Regions from separate parts of the Homo sapiens genome. Here all the other regions are linked to region 4. Evidence: promoter capture Hi-C in 16 types of primary human blood cells and fetal thymus (Javierre and others, 2016). All regions are on one chromosome and are shown on one strand. Each heading gives the region's core, a stretch centred on a gene start or on the middle of the fragment in contact. The rest is flanking DNA. Distances are from core to core; before and after follow the strand shown.

Region 1 (2,700 bases), core at 2-2,501, 490 kb before region 4:
CCAGCTACTTGGGAGGCTTAGGTGGGAGAATCGCTTGAAGCCAGGAGGTGGCGGCTACAGTGAGCTGTGATTGCACCACTGCACTCCAGCGTGGACGACACAACAAGATCTTGTCTGAGTAAATAAATAAAATAAAAAAAAATTCTGATATTACCACTCCCTTGCTTAAAAACCCTCCACTGTCCTGGAATGAAATCCAAACCCTTCACCAGGCCCCATGGCCCCTGCCCACTCTGGGCCCTCATCTTGTGCTGCCAGCGCCCCCTCCCCCACCAACCTCCTCACACAACTCCTCAGTTTCTACAAGTTTCTTCTTCCCCCAAGACCTTTGTAGCTGCTGTTGTCTCTATCTGGAACATTTTTTCCTCCTCTCTACTCTTCCCATGGTCAGCTCCAACTTCAGATCTCAGCCTACCAGCTCCTCAAATGTCCCAGGAACCCTAAGCAGTCCCCCAAATTCTCTGTTACAGCATCCTGTTTGTTTTCCTTTACAGTACTTGTTGCAGACTGTTTTGTTTCCATGTCTTTATCATCACTGTCTCTGTCCCTCTCCAGAATCCACAGCTTTACTGGGGCTGGGACCTTGTCTGGCCTGTCCAACAGAGACTCTCCATCACCCGGCACAGAGTAGGTGCTCAACAAACGGTTGTTAAAATCAAAGGGGGGACAAGTAGAGGGGAAGTGCCTTCAAGTTCTCAAGAACTCTCCTGCATCTAACTTCATAATGCCTACAGAAACAGGGAACACATCTAAAGGTCACAGGCCCTGGGGAGGCAGGGTGCATGGGAAAGCTCTGAATTCTGGAGACTTCTGCCTCACTCCCACTGGGTGGAGGAGTTTCCATTACCCATCCCAGAGAGAGAGGGGACTCTGAGGCTGCTTCACTTACTGCTGGGTTGCAGCTGGGCTTTTTCTAGAACAGGACACTTGGTTACACTACGTTACCAGGTGTCGATTGCCAGAGGAAAAGACTTTTGAAAAAGAAGTTCAGTTCACAGAACATCTCCCCGGGGCATGTGGGTGGTGTAAGGGATTCACCCGGCTGGTGTACGGGATTTGTCAGTTCTTTTATACCATCTCTTTTAAGCTTCTCACCCTTCCCTCAGAAGCAGGTATCACTGGTTCCTTTTACAGAGAATGAAACTGAGGCTTGGGGAAGTTAACTCGCCCAGGTGTGGTTAAGCGATGGCTCCTCCTCCTTCTGTCTCATTTCAGAGATTTCCCCCTTCTGGCAAGCTCTCCTGACCACCCTCCAGGGACCCCAGACAGCATTTGGTCCCTGGCTCTGTGTCCCCACACAGCCACCCTACCCCATGCTGCCTTTTACTGAGGCACACAGCATTTTAGACAGGAGAACCCTGATGGCAGAGGCTGGGTCTCACGGGACCCTGTCTCCTTAAGGGCTTAGTCTGGGGCTGGAGCCTCTACAGATGTTTGAGCAAAGGCGGGAGGCAAGGGAGGGAGGCCGGAAGCCACCCCAGGGACTCTGATGTCCACCCTGCGGCAGCCTGTCTGTGGACAGATGATGCAGGAAGCTCACGGAACTCCCAAGCAGAAATCAGCAGAGATGGAGCCTGGTTATTTTTCAGCACACAAAAGCCGAGGGCCCCTTCCTGAGATGCCTGCCTCAGCCCGGTAGTGAAACTGAACCCACCTCAGACGGGAAAGGCTTGGCGGGCTCTGCTTGGTGGGAAGTCCACAGTGGGTGAGTGACATTTCAACAGCTGCCTGGGGCCCTTCGCCCAGGGCCTTCCATTCACTACCCCAATGGCTCCCCACACCCACCTAGAGCCTCAGCCTCACAAGTACCGCTTCCAGCTTACAGAGAGGGGGAGGGGCCTAGACAGACCAAAAACCAACCATGCCACTTGACAAATTCTCTCCTAACCCCACAGTGCCTCGTCCCTGAGATGAGAATCATCACCTCCGCTTTACAAATGAGATGACCAAGGGTCAGAGAGGAGAAAGGACCTCCCCCCAGCCCTGAGTCACCTGCCTGGAGACTGAGGGAGCCATAATGCGAATCTTCCCCTTGCCAAACCCACTGACTCCATTACGCTGCCTCCAGAGAACCCGAGCCCCGCGGCGAGAAAGTGGTAGAGCTGGGCCTCGAACCTGGGTCCTGGACTCTTGGTCCTGTGCTCCTTGTGGAAGATGGAACTGCTTCTTCAGGTGGGAACCTCACAGAGTCTGGGTGCCCTGGGCAGACTGAGGCTCTGGGCTGACAGGGCAGCCAGCACTTATTCTCCCTAATTGTCTCATTTGCAGTTGTGGGTGCCACGCCTGGCCCCGAGTGTGTTGGGGAAGGTAAAGAACCTCCACTTTGGTCTTCTCAGTTCCCTTCCTGGCACTGTGCAGCCGTGGAGGAGAAATCTGGGTTGAATCTGGGTCTAGTGTTCAAGAGGAGGGCCTGGCAGAAACCAAGAGTGAAGGGGTGGAACCACAGCTCCCTGTGGACTGCCCCGTCCTCAGTCCCCGGTGCCCCAGCTGCACAGAGGAAGTGATGACAGCCAGATGAAGGTGCAACAGTGCCCAGCTCTGGAAACTCCACCCTTGTAAATCAAAGGCCTGTGGTGAGCAGAAACGAGAAATATAAACACGCACAGGTTTCTGGCGACAAAAGCCTCCTGGCCTGGTAGCACCTGGGCATGACCCCCTTTGCCCAGACGACATTAGTCACTCATATGGCTCTTGCGTTTG
Region 2 (2,700 bases), core at 35-2,534, 330 kb after region 4:
AAGGCTTTGGGCACAGGGCCAGCAGTGCAGGCCTGGCTGTATCCAGGGACCACCTTTCAGACCAGGCCCTGCCTGGCTCAGTTCTCACTTGCAAGCCATGGGCTGCCCTAATTCTAGCCTGTTTCTCTTCCTTTTGACCCGTTTGGGGAGCAGCTGCAGGGAACCACTGAGAAGGCTTGTTTACAGATGCACTTGGCACAGGATGGGGAGACCAGCAGCGATGAGTCCTGAGTTCCAACTTCCAGCTGCTCCCAGGTGCTGAGAAGCCTTCTACTTTGGGCCCCAAAAAAACAAGTCCACACTGTTGTCTTTGGCCGGGGCTTCAGGAACTTGGAGATGAGGAGACTAGAAGACAGTGGGTGAGATAGCTGTCCAGGCCGTCATCTATAACAAAGCCGTGTGGGCTGGCCCTCCAGGGAGGCCTTGCACAGGGACCATGGGTTGTGGACCCAGGCTGAGGCTCTTCTCTGGGGCCCTGAAAGGGGCACTAAGGGGCCTTGAAGTCCAGGGATAGTAATGGGTAGAGATAGTTTAATTGTTCCCTTGACTTCTTTATTCTGGAGAAGGAAGAGTCCAGAGTAACAGTCATAGACCTGTAGCATTTTGGAAAAGGGCTGGAGCCCACTCTTGTGTGGCCGTTCATCAGTGAGTCGGTCTATCTTGCACCTCTCTGATGGTCAGTAGATGGTTATGTTTTCTCCCCTAACATGGATGTCTCAGTTCATTTGATCTTCAGTGCATCCTTCCCACCCTCGATATGAAATAGAAGTTCCAGATCCCACCCAGAGAGTGCTCACAGTTTAGTGGGGGGGTATGCATGTGTAAGCAGTAGTATGTATGACACCATGTGGCTTGTACCTTGGGAAGCACAGGTCTGTCAAAGGAGCATCAGTCCCTTTTTTCTTTAAAGTGTGTCCTCTGCCCAACTGAAGTCTTGGGGAGCCTACTCTTAAACATCTACTGGCTCAGCATTCTCAGGATTGGAAGTGGGGGCAGGAACATTCTCTGATGTTAAAAGCCGTAATAGCTAATGACTGAGCCCTGGCTGTGTGACCAGCCATGTGCTAAGGGTTTTACATGCTGTATCTTCATGATAGCTCTGTGAGACGGCTACTCTTTTCATTCCCAGTTTATAACTGAGGAAACAAGTTAATGACTTGCCCAAGGTTCACAGCCAGTCCATGGTAGAGCTGGGGTTATTTGACTCCACAACTTAAAAAAAAATTATTTTTGAGAATGTTCTGAGCTGTTTTTTCTTGTAACTGAGATCCAGCTGGTGCTATTGGTGGGCTGTTGTGGCTAACTGCCTTACAGAAAATGTAAAAATGTCTAGAATAGAGTTGACATTAAGTCCCTTACATGTCAATAACTAAATTATTAGTTTACTTAAGCTGAAATTAGTCAACTGGCAGTTAAAAGAAAAGTGGTGTTCAGTATTTATTTCTATAGAAAAGTGGTAAGGTGTGGCTGGGCATGATGGCTAACACCTGTTAGGCCATCCTGGCAACATGGTGAAACACTGTCTCTACAGTAAAATTAAAAAAAAAAAATTATAAAGACAGATTCTCACTCTGTCACCCAGGCTGAAGTGTAGTGGTGCAATCATAGCTCACTGTAGCCTTGAACTTTTTTTTTTTTTTTTTTTGAGACGGAGTCTCGCCCTGTTGCCTAGGCTGGAGTGCATTGTTGTGGTCTCAGCTCACTGCAACCTCTGTTTCTCCAGTTCAAGCGATTCTCCTGCCTCAGCCTCCTGAGTAGCTGGGATTATAGGCCTGTGCCACCATGCCTGGCTAATTTTTTTGTATTTTTAGTAGAGACGGGGTTTCACCATGTTGGCCAGGTTGGTCTCAAACTCCAGAGCTCGTGATCCTCCTGCCTCGGCCTCCCAAAGTGCTGGGACTACAGGCATGAGCCACCGTGCCTTGAACTTGAACAAGCCAGCCAGCCTTGAACTTTTGACTCCAGAACTTGTACTACCAGCTCCCCTTGGGGGCAGTAATAGAATAGCTGGTAGACAAATGATGTGTAGAATTTGAAATGCTTATTTTATCAGATGAGAATAATAGAAAAAAAACAACAAAAAGGAAATGCTTATTTTAAAATCACTATTGTGTTGATTTGTTTTTAGTCACAAGATTTATTTTGAAATGACAGATTAGGCCGGGCGTGGTGGCTCACGCCTGTAGTCCCAGCACTTTGGGAGGCCGAGGTGGGCGGATCACAAAGTCAGGAGATCAAGACCATCCTGGCTAGCATGGTGAAACCCTGTCTCTACTAAAAACACACAAAAAAATTAGCCGGGTGTGGTGGCAGGTGCCTGTAGTCCCAGCTACTCGGGAGGCTGAGGCAGGAGAATGGCGTGAACCTGGGAGGCGGAGCTTGCAGTGAGCCGAGATCGGGCCACTGCACTCCAGCCTGGGTAACAGAGTGAGACTCCGTCTCAAAAAAAAAAAACAAAAAGAAATGACAGATTTAACAAGGCAGGGGTTTGTCTCTCAAAGGCAGGGGACATAGGTTAAAGGTTGAGAATCTCTTGCTTGCCAGCAAGTGGCTGCTTCACTGGGTGAGCTGTACAGAGCTGTGACCCTTGAGGGCACAGTGGAGGGGAGTAACCTGCCTTTCCCCTTGCCATACTGGGGGTCCCCCTATTAAACCGAAGCCTGCTGTGGTTGGAAATGGGTACCTGAGCAGCTTGGGGAG
Region 3 (2,700 bases), core at 157-2,656, 290 kb after region 4:
TGCAAGCTCTGCCTCACGGGTTCACGCCATTCTCCTGCCTCAGCCTCCCGAGTAGCTGGGACTACAGGCGCCTGCCACCACGCCCGGCTAATTTTTTTGTATTTTTAGTAGCGTCGGGGTTTCACCATGTTAGCCAGGATGGTCTCGATCTCCTGACCTCGTGATCCATCCGCCTCGGCCTCCCAAAGTGCTGGGATTACAGGTGTGAGCCACCGCACCCGGTCGGAACAAGCATTTCTAACAAACATATAAGGCCAGCTGTATGCTTTTTGTTACATGTCTTCTGTGATATAGAAGCAAACAAGAAGTTCTGCAAACAAGACAGTTTGTTAGCACACTTGCATACGTGTGTGAATGCATGGAATACATTGCTGTGGTTTGAGTACTTTTGGTTGCCTAAAAATCACATGCATGGGTAGGTGTTTAAAAAATTGTACGTTAGATATGCTACTATAACTTACAGCAGAAGGTTATATAAGCTGCATTTTCCAAAGTGGCTGGATTTGACAGGAGAGACAAGTAGTTTTGATTTTATTCTGTTTAATCCTACAACCAGACTAGTCCTTCTGTTGAACTGATAAGGAAGATTGTGAAATTGGGTCATTCTCTTGATTCCTGTAGTGCCTCTTCTTTCTTGTATCCTAAGTATGAAAATGGGTTACTTCAGGGGCAAACGTATTTCACATGAAGGCAACTTTACTTTTAGTGTGTTTTGGATTAGAGTGAATGTGGTGTCAGAAAAAGAAAATTCAGTTCTGATACTAACAGTTTAATTCTGATACTCCCACCCCACAGCTTAAGGGCTCAGTCTTGGAAGACTGCCCTCACTTTAGGCAGCAGCTACAAATGCAGTGCCTAGGCTACCTATACCTCTGCCCAGTAGACTACAAATTTTGGGATTCCCATGGCCCTTCTTAGGTTTGATTATTAGCTAGAACAACTCATAGAACTCAGGAAAACGTTTTACTTACCTTTTTTTTTTTTTTTTTTTTTTTTGGGATGGAGTCTCGCTCTGTTGCCCAGGCTGGAGTACAGTGGCGTGATCTCAGCTCACTGCAAGCTCTGCCTCCCAGGTTCATGCCATTCTCCTGCCTCAGCCTCCCGAGTAGCTGGAACTACAGGCGCCTGCCACCACGCCTGGCTAATTTTTTGTATTTTTAGTAGAGTCGGGGTTTCGCCATGTTAGCCAGAATGGTCTCGATCTCCTGACCTCATGATCTGCCCGCCTCGGCCTCCCAAAGTGCTGGGATTACAGGCTTGAACCACCGTGCCTGGCCGTTTTACTTACCTTTATGCCTTTGTCATAAAGGGTACAACTCACGAACAGCCAAATGGAAGAGATACATAGGGCACGGTTGTGGGTGGGGAGGGATTCAGGTGACCTGCTTTCCCCTCACCTTGAAATGTTCACAGACCTGGAAGCTCTCCAAATCTTCTGTTCTGGAGTTTTCATAGAGCTCAGTTTCTAGCCCTCCTCCCCTCTCTGGAGGTTGGTGCATGGGGCTGAAAGTTACATCCCTCTAGTCACTTTGCCTTTCTGGTGACCAGCCCCATCCTGAGGCTTCCTAGCATCCCTTCCACCGCCACCCTGTCACTTTATTAACATAAATTCAGGTGTGAATTTGTTATGAAAAACAAGAGACACTCAGCACTCAGGAAATTCCTAGGGTTTTTAGGAGCTCTCTGCTAGGAAGTGGGGACGGAAACCAAATATTGCCAAATATTTGGTGTATTACCAAAAATTTGACTTGCCTTTTATTCACAGTTACTATTAATACTTGACATAGTTTTAAAAGAGGTGTAATCTTATTGAGAATATAAATTTTTTGTAAAACTTACTAGCAAATATTTAATCTCAAATCTTAAGGTTGCTGTCTCTCTGTGCCTAGAATGAACCATGGGGCACGGGAAAATAGGGCATTTGTAGCTGGGAGTATCCCCTTCCTCCATACAGATCGTTTGCTCAGGGATTGTCTGGTGGAGTTTAGATGGCAGCCAGCCAATCATAATGATACCATAGAGAGGGTTCCATAACCTTTTAAAATCTGTAGTGTGTGGACTTAAAATTTCAGGTGCTATAGCTCTGAGATTCTTAAAGGATATTTGAATTCCCATAGTGTTAAGAACCTGGAAGAGGCCAGGTGCAATGGCTCGTGCCTGTAATCCCAGCACTTTGGGAGGCTGAGGTGGGTGGATCACCTGAGGTCAGGATTTTGAGACCAGCCTGGCCAATGTGGCGAAACCCCGTCTCTACTAAAAAAATACAAAAATTAGCCAGACATGGTGGTGCGTGCCTGTAATCCCAGCTACTTGGGAGGCTGAGGTGGGAGAATCGCTTGAACCCTGGAGGCGGAGGTTGCAGTGAGCCGAGATCACGCCATTGCACTCCAGCCTGGGTGACAGAGCAAAACTCTGTCTCAAAAAAAAAAAAAGAAAAATAAAAAACCTAGAAGATATGGGTATTGGAGGGGTAGATGCCAGGAAGGACAGAAGGAAGATATACCTTATTTCACAATTTTATTTCCTTATGATTGGCAGAATCATTTTAAAAAAAATATTTGAGACAGGGTCTTGCTCTGTCATCCAGCCTGGAGGGCAGTGGCACAATCATAGCCAACTGCAGCCTTGGACTCAAGCAATCCTCCCACCTCAGCCTCCCTGGTAACTGGGACTACAGGTGTGTGCCACTTCACCCAGCTA
Region 4 (2,700 bases), core at 120-2,619:
GAAACTAATTACGTTGAGAAACTGACTGAAGCTTGATTATTTCTATTATACACAGACTTCAAACATTCCAGAACTTACTGTTAAAGTCAGATTTACCCTCCTTGTGAGACAGACGCCCAGAGCTTGGACTTATTCGTTTGCTTTATAGAAACTCCCTAACTTATTTCACTTCTCATACTAGACTTTAAGCTCCAAAGCCAGAGACCATGACTTCCATTCCTTCCGGATCCCCCAGCGGAATGTAAAAACTCCAGAAAGCATTTCCTAAATGCCTGCCGAAAGACGGCTACTGAGCATGCCCGGCTTGGCCAAGTCAATTTCAACAACATTCTGAAACAAAAACTATAGTTCCCGCGTTACAAGGTGGAAAAAAGGGAATAAACGGGAGCAAAGCCTAAGGATTCAATCTATATGAGGGGGTTAAGGAAAGGTAAAGTTCAAGGGCGGCGCAGACGTGAAGGACAGCACTATCACAGCTTAAACTTGGTACTCGGTAAACTGGTGTCGAACCAGAACGACCAAAGAAAGGCTTAAAAAAAATACTAGATTAACGAGTGAGGGAAGGCCAACGGGGGTGCAGGGTATCGATGACGTAGGCTGACCACAGTTTTTTCTAAAGCTGCCCTCTACAAAAATAATACTAAGATGATCAGGCCTTCGGTGTCAACACCAACAAGATACACTGTGATGAAGCTCACTTCCAAAAAGTTCCTTTTTACAAACGAAAGAGCCGTGCTGTGGCCAAGATACCCCAACCATCAACGCTTGCTAAGCTCTCAGCTCCTGCCTTCATCTCCACCGCCATCTTCTGGATGGGAACCCAAACCTTCCTAAAGTGCTTTGGCCAGCATCACCTCCGCGCACAGCCCGGGAAGCCTGCGTTTCCCAGGTCGCGCAGACGGCGCAAAGGGGGAAACTCCACCTCGCTCGGCTCCGCGCCTCCCAAATGCACGCAAAGGGCTGCCGTCTTCCTTTCCCCTACCCCGCCCGGGCTTTCCAAGGTCCGGCGCGAGGAGCCCGCGAGGCGCGGTGCGCGGGCCTCACCTGCACACGCCGCGAATGCAGGGCTCCAGCCAGATGCGGTAAGCGGTCTCGATGTGCTCCTGCGACACCTCCTCGGGCCGCACCGTCTCCGCCCAGCGCCAGGCCGCCTTCTCCAGCTGCAGCCGCGGGGCCATGGCCTTGGCCCCAGGAACGCCTCCCGAGCCAGACCGCCGCAGCCGCCGCCGCGGTCTGCACCGCCGCCCCAATGGGCTTCGCCACCTGCCAGCAAGGAGGACCTGGCGCTCCTTCAGGCAGCTGGCCAGTCAATCACCTGTGCGCGCCACTGCCGCCGCGCCCGCCCGCGCCCGACCCGCACGACCGGCCGCAAAGCGCCGCCGTCGACACCCGACACACCCCGCGCCCGCGGACGTTAAAGGTGGACTCCCCGCCGCGCTGAGCGCATGCGCGTTCCCAGCAGCCTCTGCGCCTCCCGCGCCCCTAACCCGACGGGCTGAGGTAGAGGAAGCGTACGTCCGAGGCGGTCTTGCCACGTCCTCACTGGCACTTCTGGAAAAGCAGCGTCTCAGCCCCCGTTCAGGGCGGCGCACTACGTACCACTACTCTAACAAACCAGTGCCTCGAAAGCTATTTCTTGCCTCCGGTACTTCCCTTTTAACCATGAAGTTTTCACGCTAGAGGCTACTCAACGCACACACAGGCCCGCCCAGACTGTGGAGCGGGACCTGTTTAGAGTAGAAACCGAGTCGCCAAAGAAACCAGTGTTGGCTCTTTAGAGGGAGATTTAACTTGAGCCTAGACCGGTTCCGAACCCCTTTCCCGAGCCCTCCTGACGTCATGGGACCTTCCGGCCTTTTCCCGTGCTAGGGTGGGACTACGTGTCCCGGCATGCCCTGCGTCCTGCCACTGACTGTGAGGCATGCTGGGATTTGTAGTCTTCGAGGTGGGAGTGCTCAGTGCGCCGCAGACTGTGCGGGCGGGGGTCCGAGGTGCCAGGGTGGAGTTTCTCTGGTGCGCAAGGTCATGTTTGCTGTTGGCTCCCTTCTCAAGACTGTTACCTCTATGCCAGGATTTTCTAGTTCCTCTCTAGCTCCTGGTTTAAAACATTTCCTTTCTGCGACTCCTGCCCCAGGACATAAAGAGTAGCTTTATGAGAATTGTTTTGCAAACTGTAAAGAACTCTACTAAAGTGAGGATATTTAAGAATTTTGAATTTGAATTAGAGCTCTGCCAGAATCTAAGCGCTAACTTCTGACTCAGCTGCTTGCCTGCTGGAAAACCTTAGGCTGAATTCTTTAGATAAACATTCACTGGGCCGAGCACCGTGGCTCAAGGATCCAATCCCAGCACTTTGGGAGGCCGAGGTGGGCGGATCACCTGAGGTCAGGAGTTCGAGGCCAGCCTGACCAAAATGGAGAAACCCCGTCTCTACTAAAAATACAAAATTAGCAAGGCGCGGTCGCGCATGCCTGTAATCCCAGCTAGTCGGGAGGCAGAGGCAGGAGAATCGCTTGAACCCGGGAGGCGGAGGTTGTGGTTAGCCGAGATAACGCCATTGCACTCCAGCCTGGGCAACAAGAGTAAAACTCCGTCTCAAAAAAAACAAAAAAATTCGCTGAAGGCAGAAGAAAGTAAGATGTGGTCCCTGCCCTTGGAAGTGGGTTAGGGAGTGAGCGGTAGAAATACAAAGATCCCCAT
Region 5 (2,700 bases), core at 42-2,541, 310 kb after region 4:
AACATGTTCCCCATCTGGTGCTCTTAGGAAGGAGTATAGTAAATGCCTCATTTAATAACATACTCCTTTTTGAAAGTTGCCTTTTCTCTCCACCCTTGAGTAGATCCAGTATTTGATGAAACTCATGAAAGTGGGTGGAGCCCATCTTGCCCCTCCTCTTTTCTAGGACGCACTATATGTGACTGTGACTTTCAAGGACATTTGTTTGCCATTTGCTGATTTTTTTGGGAAGTTAATTTCTAACTTCTTTCACTGATAAATGAAGAAAAGTATTGCACCTTTGAAATGCACCAAATGAATTGAGTTTGTAATTAAAAAAATTTTTTTCCCTTTCAGTCATTGTCTTATATGCTTAGCATAGATTTGCAGCTCAGTAGTATATGGTGTTCCTAGAATGCAGCTGAAGACCTGTTATGTAGAGGAAATACGAGGGGTGGTGCTAGAAGACAGACATCTGTGGAATGATTCACATCCTCTCAAGTTAGGAGGATGGAGGCCTGCTTCATTAAGAAGCTGGGGGTAGGGTGGGGGTGGGGAGAACACTTAACAACATGGGGACCAGTCAGGGGAATCCCCTTATTTCTGTTTTGCATATGAGGAACCCTAGAGCAGCCAGGTGAGGCTCTCTAGTTTAATAAAAATCATGGAAAGACTCTTAATGCAGACTCTTCTTAAGTGTTAATAGGGATTTTTTCAGCTTATTTTGGTTGCAGTTTCCAATTTTTAAAAATGTTGAGGTAATCTTTCCCACCTTCCCAAACCTAATTCTTGTAGATGCATTAGTGTTGAACCAATGCTTTCTCATGTCTCAATTCTTTGTATATGCATTCTTTTCAGATGTATTAAACAAACAAAAACCCTTCACAAGCCAGCCTGAGGGTTGTTATTTTCCCTCCGTCTCTTACTTTTCAGATATTGAGGAGTGGGAATTTGACTCTTGATAACATCAATTTCTAACAAACTTTGGGATAAAATTTTAAAGCTTTATTATTTTTATTTTCTGGCATTTTAGTTTGAGATAATATTTAGCCCTCTATATGTTCAGGTTTGTGCTTTCTCCTCTAAGTTTGACCCTTCCCTTAAATACCAAGTAGGTCCATAATAATTCTTAGTGAAGCAGTGTTCAGGAAGCTCACTGCTCATGGTGGAAGGAAATGTCAGTGTACCTTTAATCCATAGATCATTGAAAAGCAGCTCATTTTCCCCCAAGTTTTCTGCATCAGTGGTTCTCCAACTGGAGTGCAGCTTGAACAATGTGATTTTTAAGTTTTCCAGGCATTTCTAAAATGTAGCCAAGTTTGGGAATCACCACACCTAGTTGGTTATCTCAAACTACTACTATCAGAATACAGGTTCTGTGCTGCGAATCTGAATATGGGATACATTTTCTTTAGGTAGCAAGAAAGGTTTATTTACCTTTAGGACATTATACTGATCTGCATGAGAATCTTAGAAACTAAGAACCCTTAAAATCAGTTAAGGTTGGTACACTGTGGCCTCATTTTGATAGTTCTCTGCATGGAGTCATGTTTGGCATGATTTGCATACTGTGCTAGAATTAAGCTGGGTTGGTTGAGAAGGGGTTAGGAAGAGGCAGATGTAAGCTTTAACAGTTCTAACCAAGAAATGCATCTTATTTATTCCTTGTTGACTATACTAGGGAGAGATACCTGGATCATGTGATACCCTGGAAAGCAGGGACATATGTATCCTTAGTGTAGTCAGGGGCGTATAGGTCCTTGACTATTGCTATATCTTTGTCCTAAAGCAATGCTTGACATGATATGGCTCTAGAAGTAGTCATTGGATGGGTATATTATTTTATAAATGAGTAAGTGAAATAAAGCAGGTCATACAGTTGTGTCAACGAATTATCCGTGTATCAGAAGAACAAGGATGATGGGGATTGATTGAAGCTAATGTTTTCTTAAATATTTTCAGATTGATTTCTGCATGTCAGAAGAACTTGGGTAGCAAGTGGATGCAGCTTAGGTTTTCCATTTAAATATTGTTTTCTATTTGACGTAACAAACTTGCTTATAGTCGTGGCTTAGAAGGTGAGTGATATTCTCCAGGGAGTATGATTTAGAGGCTGGAAAGGGTTATTGAAAATAGTCCTTACAGGCTTAGTTTGTGTCAGAATTTATAGTATTTAATACGATGTTAATATATTATTGCTATTTATAAGTGTTTTACTGAACATCCTAGAAATAGATTTTTTTTTTTTTTTTTTTTTGAGACGGAGTCTCGCTCTGTCGCCCAGGCTGGAGTGCAGTGGCGCGATCTCGGCTCACTGCAAGCTCCGCCTCCCGGGTTCACGCCATTCTCCTGCCTCAGCCTCCCGAGTAGCTGGGACTACCGGCGCCCGCTACCACGCCCGGCTAATTTTTTGTATTTTTAGTAGAGACGGGGTTTCACCGTGTTAGCCAGAATGGTCTCGATCTCCTGACCTCGTGATCCGCCCGCCTCGGCCTCCCAAAGTGCTGGGATTACAGGCGTGAGCCACCGCGCCCGGCCAGAAATAGATTTTATAGTTAAAGCGATGTTCTTCAAGCTGGACTTTATGCCACAAGGGGAGTGTATTCTAAAGGGGAAGAAAAGGATTGTGGTTTAAAAGAACAATTGTAATATTTCCTTCATTCTGAGGTGTATTTTTCTCACATTTTCATATTGTAATTAGGATACCTGTTAACATTGGTG

Evidence for each region. Contacts are between HindIII fragments. The CHiCAGO score rates a contact against its expected background, and 5 or more counts as called.
Region 1: a contact is called between the fragment with the promoter of ECE1-AS1 here and the fragment with the promoter of USP48 in region 4, in 9 of 17 cell types (total B cells, neutrophils, fetal thymus and 6 more). The highest score is 12.1, in total B cells.
Region 2: a contact is called between a fragment that was not itself captured here and the fragment with the promoter of USP48 in region 4, in 4 of 17 cell types (naive CD8 T cells, non-activated CD4 T cells, activated CD4 T cells and 1 more). The highest score is 6.1, in naive CD8 T cells.
Region 3: a contact is called between a fragment that was not itself captured here and the fragment with the promoter of USP48 in region 4, in 3 of 17 cell types (total CD4 T cells, naive CD4 T cells and monocytes). The highest score is 5.7, in total CD4 T cells.
Region 5: a fragment that was not itself captured here is called in contact with the fragment with the promoter of USP48 in region 4 in 7 of 17 cell types (non-activated CD4 T cells, activated CD4 T cells, naive CD4 T cells and 4 more); the score reaches 7.2 in non-activated CD4 T cells.

What each region holds. Positions count from the first base shown.
Region 1 is chr1:21,292,039-21,294,738 of GRCh38, forward strand. ECE1-AS1 (ECE1 antisense RNA 1) reads left to right here and starts at 1,252. Exons shown (of 3, transcript NR_038404.1): 1 at 1,252-1,705; 2 at 1,896-2,172. It also overlaps a transcript of ECE1 not described here. RefSeq lists enhancers at 1,199-1,288, 2,130-2,700, 2,669-2,700. The HindIII fragment of the contact is 8,029 bases long and covers 1,086-2,700 here.
Region 2 is chr1:22,108,661-22,111,360 of GRCh38, forward strand. No RefSeq gene overlaps it. Among named protein-coding and RNA genes, the nearest start is that of WNT4, 33 kb to the right of the region's middle. The HindIII fragment of the contact is 3,822 bases long and covers 1-2,700 here.
Region 3 is chr1:22,071,120-22,073,819 of GRCh38, forward strand. The region is part of intron 1 of CDC42 (cell division cycle 42); the gene reads left to right. Among named protein-coding and RNA genes, the nearest start is that of CDC42, 20 kb to the left of the region's middle. The HindIII fragment of the contact is 6,953 bases long and covers 1-2,700 here.
Region 4 is chr1:21,781,780-21,784,479 of GRCh38, forward strand. USP48 (ubiquitin specific peptidase 48) reads right to left here and starts at 1,370. Exons shown (of 27, transcript NM_032236.8): 1 at 1,045-1,370. The coding sequence starts at 1,178. RefSeq lists enhancers at 54-103, 416-1,187, 664-763, 1,188-1,958, 1,704-1,753 and a silencer at 1,134-1,493. The HindIII fragment of the contact is 2,827 bases long and covers 30-2,700 here.
Region 5 is chr1:22,092,080-22,094,779 of GRCh38, forward strand. It overlaps CDC42 (cell division cycle 42), which reads left to right. Exons shown (of 6, transcript NM_001791.4): 6 at 1-2,700. Among named protein-coding and RNA genes, the nearest start is that of CDC42, 41 kb to the left of the region's middle. The HindIII fragment of the contact is 622 bases long and covers 981-1,602 here.